2 separate regions of the Homo sapiens genome follow, and region 2 is linked to region 1. Evidence: promoter capture Hi-C in human tissues and cell types (Jung and others, 2019). All regions are on one chromosome and are shown on one strand. Each heading gives the region's core, a stretch centred on a gene start or on the middle of the fragment in contact. The rest is flanking DNA. Distances are from core to core; before and after follow the strand shown.

Region 1 (5,241 bases), core at 1,638-4,137:
GGCTTCTGTTTTATTCAGGGATTTTTTTAAAAAGTCAATCAGAAAAGGGATACTGGAGCTTCTTCATGTATGTAACAGCATATTAAACTGGAGACAGTGATGAATCAGCTACAAAGGTAATATTGTATTAAAATCATGTTTAAGATAGCTGCTTTTATGTGTATTTTATATTGCATGCTTTTGTAAAAACATGCTGGGTGATGAAAGATTAGTTTTAGAGAGAAAATGTTCATCTGTGCAGAGGATGCATTTTCTTCCATTAATTCTGGAAAAAACGTTCACAGTTATATATATGGTATTTTGCAAAAGGACTATTAATAGAACCTTTTGAGATGAATTAATGTAAGAATATTTTTTAAATAGGCTTACTGTCAAATTGCAACTTTTTTTTTAGATACAGAGTGGAAAACAGTGCTAAGTCATTTGGCACCTCCTTACAAATATTTTTCATGGTCACATTTATTAAATGTTACTACATTTCTGAATTTTTGAAAAATGTATTTTATCATTAAATGGCATTATTTTAAAGGGTGAAAAACTGACACAGTCAATTCAGAAAATGGACTGAAGTCTGAATAAGGTCATTGCATTTAAAAAGCATATAACTGTACTTGACTGATGAGGGAGGTGTTACTTTCATTGTATATAGGTCTTATTTCATAAACAGATATCCTGTATCAAATAAAAGTATTTGTTATATATTTGAAGTTATGCATGGAAAGGAGTGTGTTTAAATTGTTACAAACAATAATGCGTCATTAAAGGCCATGCTGATCTTGCATAACTATAAGTACTATGAATGAATTTGGTTGGTTTTGGTGTTGTACAGCTCACATGTTTACACACTCAGTGCCCTAATTTCCCCTGAGGGAATCGCTTTTTAAGTGATCCTTACAGTGGTGTTTTATGTTACTTTATTACAGAGCTCCTTGGTTTTTTACTTCTGCACTTAAATTTTTTTAAATAACATGATGATGGTACATTTTCCTCTATTGTCTAGCTAAGGGCTTTCGGTCCACCAGTAAATAAGATCAAATGCTCTTAAATGTTCCTGTTACCATCCTAATGTAAATACTGGATTTTTCTGTCATTTAGCACCATGCTGCTTCTGTCTGTCTTAATGCTGGCATTAAGATCATGAGCCCTTTTTCTCCAGTAGTACAGGCTTTGAAAACTACTTCTATTAAGTTATTGATGCAATTTGATATTTTTTCATAATCTATATTTAAACAAAATTACATCATTGCATCATCTTTTCTAAATTCATCTCCATTAAAACTTGCCTTAAGCTACCAGATTGCTTTTGCCACCATTGGCCATACTGTGTGTTTGTTTGTTTAATTTACTTTCACAATAAACTTCTGTGTAGTAAAAACAGGGTCTTGGCTCTTTCTTGACCTAACCCAGTAATTTCTAAGAAAGCAACAACAGTGGCATCTAGTGGTAATTTCTGTTGATTCCAAAGAAGACTACTTTAAATATAGGTATCACAAGGTATACAAATCCCCCAGTGTATATTATGGTTTTCAAGAAATCTGGCTTGATTTACCCATCCTGTGAGATATGACCATAAAGTAGTGATGTTGGGAGAAAGAATTTTAAATTACACATCCAAATTAGTTCCATCTTTCAAGCTAGTTGTTTTGGAAATATACAGCCGTTTTGATTGTGCTGGTGTTATATCAAACATTCTTAAGACTCCTGGCATTTTCCTACAACAGAAAAGTAAGCCCTTTTCCTTGAAAGTATGCCTTAAGCTTGACACATGATAAACAGATTCACTCATTAACCACAAGACTTACTGCAAATGACAAAAATGCCTTTAAATTCTGAATTGACACCATTAAGGGAAATTCCAAAGAGTAGGATTCATGCTCTGAGAGTTAATTTCAAAAAATTGAGCAGTAACAGCATGGTTTTAGTAAGTATATCACTTCTAGAAACATAATTGGATATGCTAGCTCGGGGCTGCTTGGTGAAAAATATCTTACTTGATTTATGCCTCATTTGGCAATGAGGAGCTTTTCAATCTATAAACCATTGTATTATCCATAACACATTACCCCAAAACTTAGCAGCTTAAAACAATAAATACGTATTATCCCACAGGTGAGTCACAAATCTGGAAGTAGCTAAGATCAATGGTTCTGGTTCAGAGTTCCTCATAAGGTTAGAGTCATCCTGGGCTACAGTCATCTCAAGGATTGACTGGATGAAAGATCCCCTTTCAAACCCACTAATGTGGTCACTGACTGGCCTCGGTTCTTTGCAGCTTGCTAGATGAAAGGCAGATGTTCCTTGCTAGATGTTGGACAGAGACCTGCTTCCATTTCATGCCCAGCTGGGTCTTTCCATAGGACAGTGCACAGCAGGGTAGCTGGCTTCCCCCAAGGCAAGTGATCCAAGAGAGCGCACACCCAAGTTGAAAGCACAGTCTTTTTTTTTTTTTTTTTTTTTTTTTTTTTGAGATGGAGTCTCGCTCTGTTGCCTAGACTGACTGGACTGCAGTGCTGCAATCTCAGCTCACTGCAACCTCCCCCTCCCGGGTTCAAGCGATTCTCCTGCCTCAGCCTCCCACGTAGCTGGGATTACAGGTGCCCATCAACATGCCCGGCTAATTTTTGTATTTTTCATAGAGACGGGGTTTCACCATGTTGGCCAGGCTGGTCTCAAATTCCTGACCTCAAGTGATTCGTCCGCCTCGGCATCCCAAAGTGCTGAGATTACAGGTGTGAGCCACCATGCCCAGCCAAAAGCACAGTCTTAGAACTGAATCTTGGGCTGCCATATTGTATGTTAGAATCAAGTCACTGGGTCTGGTCCACACTCAAAGGGGGAGGAATATTAAGCTTCATCTGTTGAAGGCGGGGATGTCAAAGCATTTGTGGACATCTTTCTAAACCACCATGGTGATATTACCAAATATACGTAACTGAGTATAAGATACCTTTGGTGTTTTGCCGGGCGCGGTGGCTCACACCTGTAATCCCAGCACTTTGGGAGGCCGAGGCAGGCAGATCATGAGGTCAGGAGATCGAGACCATCCTGGTTAACGGTGAAACCCCGTCTCTACTAAAAATACAAAAAATTAGACGGGTGTGGTGGCGGGCGCCTGTAGTCCCAGCTACTCGGGAGGCTGAGGCAGGAGAATGGTGCGAACCCAGGAGGTGGAGCTTGCAGTGAGCCAAGATCGCACCACTGCACTCCAGCCTGGGCAACAGGGCGAGACTCCATCTCAAAAAAAAAAGATACCTTTGGTGTTTTAATCTAAACATTCTTTAAAGGTAAGATTTCAGTCTTGCAGATTTGAATACATGATTCCCCCTAGATAGCATCAACCCCTTTTCTTGCATCACCATCATATATTCATATATGGCATTTCAGAAATGTTCCAAAGCTAAAAAATGACAGTCACAGGGTGAAATCATGGATGGAAATGGCAGTTTAGTTTGTTTAAATATGGAATATTCTGAAACAGATAAGTCACTGTTTTAGTCAACTCCCAGCTTTTGGTTAGAAAATTTAAGCAACTTAGAATTAAGGTCGTTATTGGCCTCATTCAGATTTCAGAAATGTTGAGGAGATGTTGTAGATAAAAATAAAAGGCCAGGCACAGTAGCTCATATCTGTAATCCCAGCACTTTGGGGGGCTGAGGCAGGAGGATTGCTTGAGGCCAGGAGCTCAAGACCAGCCTGGGCAAGATAGCAAGACCTTCATCTGCACAAAAATATTTTTCTTAATTAGCCAGGCATGGTGGTGCACACCTCTAAGTCCCAGCTACTTGGGAGGCTGGAGTGGGAAGATCGCATGAGCCGAGGATTTTGAGGTTGCAGTGAGCTATGATCTTGCCACCGCACTCCATCCTGGGCCACCAGAGCAAGATATTACCTATAAAAATAAAAATGGAAAATGTTGAAGTTCTATTTTTTTTTTGGAGACTAAAAGTATGGTTATCATTTAGGGGGGGAAATATCCAGTGTCCAAAATAAACATGTTCCCTGCTCACAAGGAATCTACAGTCTAGCTAAAAAGCTGACCAAAGGCAGTAACACTGTTTAAGTTACATTAGAAGTACTGGCTCTTATAGTACATCTATTCTAGTCTGGGTGGTGAATAAAAGCTTCCCTAAAGAGATGTTTTGAGGGTGGGTGCGGTGGCTCACGCCTGTAATCCCAGCACTTTGGGAGGCCGAGGCGGGTGGATCACAAGGTCAGGAGATCAAGACCATCCTGGCTAACATGGTGAAACCCCGTCTCTACTAAAAAATACAAAAAATTAGCTGGGCGTGGTGGCGGGCGCCTGTAGTCCCAGCTACTTGGGAGGCTGAGGCAAGAGAATGGCATGCACCCAGCAGGCGGAGCTTGCAGCGAGCCGAGATTGCACCACTGCACTCCAGCCTGGGCGAAAGAGTGAAACTCCGTCTCAAAAATAAAAAAAGAGATGTTTGAGCTAAGATCTGAAGGATGGCAGACCTTAAGCTAGCTAGAGAAGGTATTGCAGGTAGCTAGCCAATAGCTTGGCAAGTTTGAGAAGCTAAGAGCAGCTGAGTATGACTGGAACAGAAAAGAGGGGGCTGCAGCAGTGAGATGAATCCAGAAGGGCAGATTCCACCCAGCAGAGGGCAGGGTAAGAGTCACAAGCAGTGCTGGACTGGCCTTTCCAACCGTGTTAAATAAAACATTTGGACCATTCCCAAGGGTGAACAGGAAGCCATTGAGGGCTTATGACCTTGATGGAATCGGTGCTTGAGAAAACTCAATTTTGTTTGGGGAGAATAAGACTGGAGTCAGAAACTTGGTCCCACTGATCATACGATATAGTAACACAGGAAGATTAAGGGTAGCTTTGTTGGCATGGAGACATTTCAAAGCTATAAACAGTACAGGAGGCATAATTGACAGTTTTCCCAATTTCTCTTATCAGTCAGGATAGGCTGGTTATGTTGCTTTGTTTTGTTTGTTTGTTTTTTGAGATGGAGTCTCATTCTGTTGCCCAGACTGGAGTGCAGTGGTTCAATCTCTCCTCACTGCAACGTCCGCCTCCTGGGTTCAAGCAACTGTCGTGTCTCAGCCTCCCGAGTAGCTGGGATGACAGGTGCCCGCTAATTTTTTGTATTTTTAGTAGAGATGGGGTTTCATCATGTTGACCAGGCTGGTCTTGAACTCCTAACCTCAGGTGATCCACCCGCATCGGCCTCCCAAAGTGTAGGGATTACAGGCGTGAGCCACCACGCCTGGGCT
Region 2 (5,241 bases), core at 896-3,395, 88 kb after region 1:
CCCAGCACTTCGGGAGGCCAACGTGGGTGAATCACTTGAGGTCAGGAGTTTGAGACCAGCCCGGCCAACATGGTGAAATCCCATCTCTACTAAAAATACAAAAATTAGCCAGGCATGGTGGCACATGCCTGTAATCCCAGCTACTGGGGAGGCTGAGGCAGGAGGATTGCTTGAACCTGGGATATGGAGGTTGCAGTGAGCCGAGATCACACCACTGCACTCCAGCCTGGGTGACAGAGTGAGACTCTGTTTCAAAAACAAAACAAAACAAAAAATGAACAAAAAACCATAAATAAATAAATAAATAACCAGTAGAGTACTGGCCAATCTAAGAGGATCTTGGCAATGTCCTAAAGACCTGGTGGGCCAGAGGTCAACCCATGAACTCATGGAATATGAGGAAGCTGAGGATCCTGGAGGGAAGGCAGGGGAAATCGGGGGGTCCTGCCAGTACTCGCTCAGCCACTCTGTTAGGGAAGAGTTTGAATATACTGATAACCAGGTGGCCAGAGTCACATGACTGGGTGTCTGTCCTGACTCAAGCATCCCACACGTGGGAATCCCAGGATGAGCTGCCTCATAGGCCATGGGAAGCCCGGGCTACTGTCTGGGAGGTCCCTGGTGTGCTGCTCTATGCAGTTCCCCATCTAGTGCCCCAGCCCCTTGATTAGGGATGGGTGTTTGTGGACTGACTATTGGAGGCTGAGGCCCAGGGTCCCTGCATGCTCACCTGCCCGCAGCCGAGGCAGCAGGTGAGACAGGGCCTGCAGTTGCTTGTGCTGGGCAACCCGCTCCCGTAGGGGCTCTAGAGTCTGTAAGGCCTGGGACATGCCCTGGAGCAACCCACGGGCCTGGCTCAGGGCCTCCCGGGTTCCCTGCACCACCTCAATGGCCTGGGCCAGCTGCCACACACCAGTCTGCACGCCTTCCAGGTATGACTGCATCACTGACTGTGGAAAGATGGAGCCATGAGGCTGGGCCAGCCCTGCAGCACAGTCCCAGCACCCGCACCCCCTGCCCCATGCCCACCTTGAGGCGCGATTCCAGGGAGCAGGTACGCTGCACCTCGCGGCTGCGGTACTGGCCTAGCCTGGCCAGCTGCTCCGGCCGGTAGAAGATGCCTGAGGCCCACTTGAGCGCTGCACCCCGGGCCAGCTGCTCTGCCCGCTCCTGCTCTGGCCACTCAGGTCCTGGGAAGGAAGAGCCTGGGCAGCCGTGTAGTCAGGGAGGAGGGCCCAACGACCCCAGTCCCAGCTTTCTTATTTATTTATTTATTTATTTATTTGTTTGTTTATTTGTTTATTGAGATGGAGTCTCGCTCTGTTGCCCAGGCTGGAGTGCAGTGGTGCAATCTCGGGTCCCTGTAACCTCCGCCTCCCGGGTTCAAGCGATTCTCCTGCCTCAGTCTCCCGAGGAGCTGGGATTACAGGCGCGTGCCATCACGCCCAGCTAGTTTTTGTATTTTTAGTAGAGACGGGGTTTCACTATGTTGGCCAGGTTGGTTTGGAGCTCCTGACCTCAGGTCATCTGCCCATCTTGACCTCCCAAAGTGTTGGGATTACAGGCGTGAGCCACTGCGCCCAGCCAGTCCCATCTTTGTTGCCATCATTCCTCCCCTAGTCCACCCAAAAGGTTCATACCAGGGGACAACGCCGGCTGCATCTCATCCTTGGCTGCTGAGTCCATTGTGGGCCTGGAGGAGCCAGAGCTGAGGTGGGCCCGGGGCAAGCAGGCAGAGTAGATGCCCCTGTGAGCTGCTGCCTCTGTCTAAGCCCTTCTGAGAGGAGGAAGGAGGTTCTTCCCGGCCCCCTCGGGAAGTGAGAGGGAGCGGGTGTGATGCGGAGGGCACCTGGGAGGCTTTGCCTGCTAGGTTTCCCAGTCGTGCCCCTGCAGATGTCAAGCGAGACAGAGTGGGCACAGGCCTCCACTGGACCCTGGTCCTGCTCTGAGCTGCACAGGACAGTTTGGTACAGAACTTACCAGATTTGATCAGGCGTCCAGTTCTCCCTCCAAAAATGACCTTGGCCTTGAGAACAGCCCTCTCCCCAATGCAGCTGGGCACGCCTGCCACTTGCTCACAGGGCCTGGGCAACTCCAGCTGACTCCAGCGTGCAGCTGAATTCCTCTCCCCAAGGAAGTCTCTCTCCCACTCCCCACCCAGAAGCCCCTTCTTCCCACCGAGGCTCCTCCCTCCCCAAGGCCATCAACAGAAAGGAAGGAAGCTGAGTCTCTGGCATTTTATTCCCAACAGGAAAGAGTGTCTGCACAGAGGGTGGGGACAGCTGGGCGACACTTCCCTGAGGGGCGGGGGGGTGGGGTGTACTTGTACTCAACCAGTCTTGACCAGCCTACCCAGAACCTCTTAGTGCTCAGGAGAGGAGATAGGGATTTGCTAGACTTGGCCTCAACCTGGGGTGGTGGGCAGAGTGTGCAGATATGGATGCAGACGACATCAACAGCACAGGATGAAAACTGTGTTGGCCAGCCTCTGAGGAGGATGTGTACCTCTGCGGAGGAGTGAGAGGTGGCAGGCTCTTGTGAAGAGGGGTGTGGTGGGGGGTGGTAGGAGAGGGTCATGAAAGCTGTGTTTATCTTTTTTGTTTTAGACAGGGTCTTGATCTGTCACCAAGGCTGGAGTACAGTGGCACCACCATAGCTCACTGCAGCCTTCTGGGCTCAAGCGATCTGCCTGCCTCAGCCTCCCAAAGTGTTGGGAGATTACAGGCGTGAGTCACCGCAACTGGGCAGCTGTGTTTATCTTGAGAGTTATAGGGAGCCAGGGAAGGGACTATAAGGTGGTAATTATTTAGTGGATGTTCAGTCCACCACCCAAATCCACCCTTCAGGACAGAAGTGCTCATTCTCCAGCTGCCAGGAGTGTAGGCTACTGAGATCACACCACTGAGTCTCTCAGTCAATATTGGGGTGCAAAAGCATGGTACCATCGTGTGAACATGAACCCTTCAGAAGTGCTACCCCAATTTCAGAGATCCTAGTGGGATAGGCTGAGGCCTATAATATAATTGCATCTGCTCAATTCTGCTTGTCTTAATCCCTTAAAGGTGTGGATCCTGACCAGGTGCGGTGGCTCACACCGGTCATCCCAGCATTCTGGGAGGCTGAGGTGGGAGGATCTCTTGAGCCCACGAGTTCAAGACTAGCCTGGGCAATATAGTGAGACCCACATCTCTAAAAAACTAAAAATAAATGAGCCGGGCATGGTGGTGCATGCCTGTGGTCCCAGCTACTTGGGAGGCTGAGGTGGGAGAATCGCTTGGGCCCAGGAAGCTGAGACGGCATTGATCTTGCCACTGCACTCCGGCCTGGGCAACAGAGTGAGACCCTGTCTCAAAAAAAAAAAGTGTGGATCCCCAACAAACTTGCTGCAAAACCCTATCTCGAGTCCCATTTCCCAGAGGACCTGATCTAAAAGAAACAATAATAAATAGTAACAATGTTAAAAGTTACAAAATGACCGTATCACACATTCCTGCATGCCAGGAATGACTGAGTGCTTTACTGATATTTACACATAGGTAAACACGTTTGCATTGGCTGAAGTGTTCATAACCCCATAGTCTCTGAGCACTGTACTGTGAGGACAAGACGAGCGAAAGATGAGGCTAGGACCATGGGTGGAACAAGGTGGACAAGGTAGATATAGTTAGTGCTTGCTGTTTGGCAGGAAGTGAGGGATAGGAATAGATGGGGTGACCCCAAGACAGTAGGGCAGCCTTTAGGAACAGGTTTGATGTGGCAGTAAAATGAGTTTGAAATATATAAAAGAATAAATAAAGAGAAAAAAATGGAAAAGGAACAGGTTTGAGGGAGCAGATTGGATTAGTCAGGTAGTGTGGTCTCCTCTCCCAAGATGGGGACTAGGCAGAGTTAGTGATGTTGGGGCAGATTGGCAAGGAAAGTTCCGATGGCGTCCCCTTCTCTACTGCCAGGGCGGCCCACTGACGCCCTTCTCATTCCTCCCCAACTTCATCCCAACTCCCCGGTCTACCCAGGTAGTTTTCGTCTTATTCGGAGGCTGGACATTTGCTACTGGTCCCTGAAGTTTTGCGGCTGCACCCACAGACAGCAATAGCGCCACGTTCCCTGGAAGGCGCACGGGACGGAAGCGGAAGCAGTAACGCTGGCTCCGGCTGCCCGGCGGCCAGGAACGGAAGCGGAAGTGGCGGCGGCGCCGGCCTGGCCTGGCCTGGCTGAGGGGAGGCGGCGGGCGGGCGCGATGGCGGAGGCCGGGCCACAGGCGCCGCCGCCCCCGGGCACTCCAAGCCGGCACGAAAAGAGCCTGGGACTGCTCACCACCAAGTTCGTGTCCCTTCTGCAGGAGGCCAAGGACGGCGTGCTTGACCTCAAGCTGGTGCGGCCTGGGCTAAGGGGAGACAAGGGAGGCTGGTGGACCAGGCCTGGGCCGGTAGCGGGAACCCCGGGGGCGGCCCAGCTGGGTCCTCCGAGAGCCGGCCGCCATCGTGTGCTTTCTCACAGGAGAGAAGCCGGGGGATGTTTCATTCATTCGGCCGAGGCCATCGAGCTACAGCTATGGGCCAGGCTCGGGCTGCAGGTGTTCGTCCTCGTGGCCCTTCCTGGCTGGCGAGGAGAAGAGCTGCCTATGGGACAGAGCTGCGGTCCTGAGCTGCAGTAGCGCCTGGGAGGCACTACAGGGTTGGAATCCAGATTACTCCCTTCCCAGACCACGTCTCAGGGTGGCTGGGGGTACACCCCAGAGTGGGGCTGAGCATTCTCCATTCTCTCTGCCAGGCAGCTGACACCCTAGCTGTACGCCAGAAGCGGCGGATTTACGACATTACCAATGTTTTGGAAGGTATCGGGCTAATCGAGAAAAAGTCCAAGAACAGCATCCAGTGGAAGTGAGTGGGCATAGTGGGAGGGTAGTAGAGTCTCCCACCCAGAAGTGTCGGGCGTGGGGTGGAGGGTGCCGAAGAAGGCAGGGGCCATGGGACCCAGAGTTCTCAGCAGTCCCTCTCAGCCCCACTCCCTGGGCTCAGGGGTGTGGGGCCTGGCTGCAATACCCGGGAGATTGCTGACAAACTGATTGAGCTCAAGGCAGAGATCGAGGAGCTGCAGCAGCGGGAGCAAGAACTAGACCAGCACAAGGTGTGGGTGCAGCAGAGCATCCGGAACGTCACAGAGGACGTGCAGAACAGCTGATATCCTCCTGGCGGTCCCTGCTGGGGGGAGTGGGCAAGGGGCCCTCTGGTTCAACTTGCC

What was found. The method cuts DNA at HindIII sites, captures the fragments that hold promoters and counts their contacts. A contact is called where the count stands out against the background at its distance.
Region 2: a contact is called between the fragment with the promoter of EXOC3L1 here and a fragment that was not itself captured in region 1, in 10 of the 25 tissues and cell types used here (adrenal gland, bladder, dorsolateral prefrontal cortex and 7 more).

What each region holds. Positions count from the first base shown.
Region 1 is chr16:67,099,684-67,104,924 of GRCh38, forward strand. CBFB (core-binding factor subunit beta) reads left to right here. Exons shown (of 6, transcript NM_022845.3): 6 at 1-1,375. Among named protein-coding and RNA genes, the nearest start is that of PHAF1, 7.6 kb to the right of the region's middle. The HindIII fragment of the contact is 4,683 bases long and covers 547-5,229 here.
Region 2 is chr16:67,187,991-67,193,231 of GRCh38, forward strand. EXOC3L1 (exocyst complex component 3 like 1) reads right to left here and starts at 2,146. Exons shown (of 14, transcript NM_178516.4): 1 at 1,981-2,146; 2 at 1,641-1,693; 3 at 1,030-1,190; 4 at 731-950. The coding sequence starts at 1,686. It overlaps E2F4 (E2F transcription factor 4), which reads left to right and starts at 4,165. Exons shown (of 10, transcript NM_001950.4): 1 at 4,165-4,372; 2 at 4,771-4,880; 3 at 5,019-5,180. The coding sequence starts at 4,238. RefSeq lists enhancers at 3,888-4,818, 3,987-4,126, 5,207-5,241 and a silencer at 4,217-4,406. The HindIII fragment of the contact is 11,498 bases long and covers 1,099-5,241 here.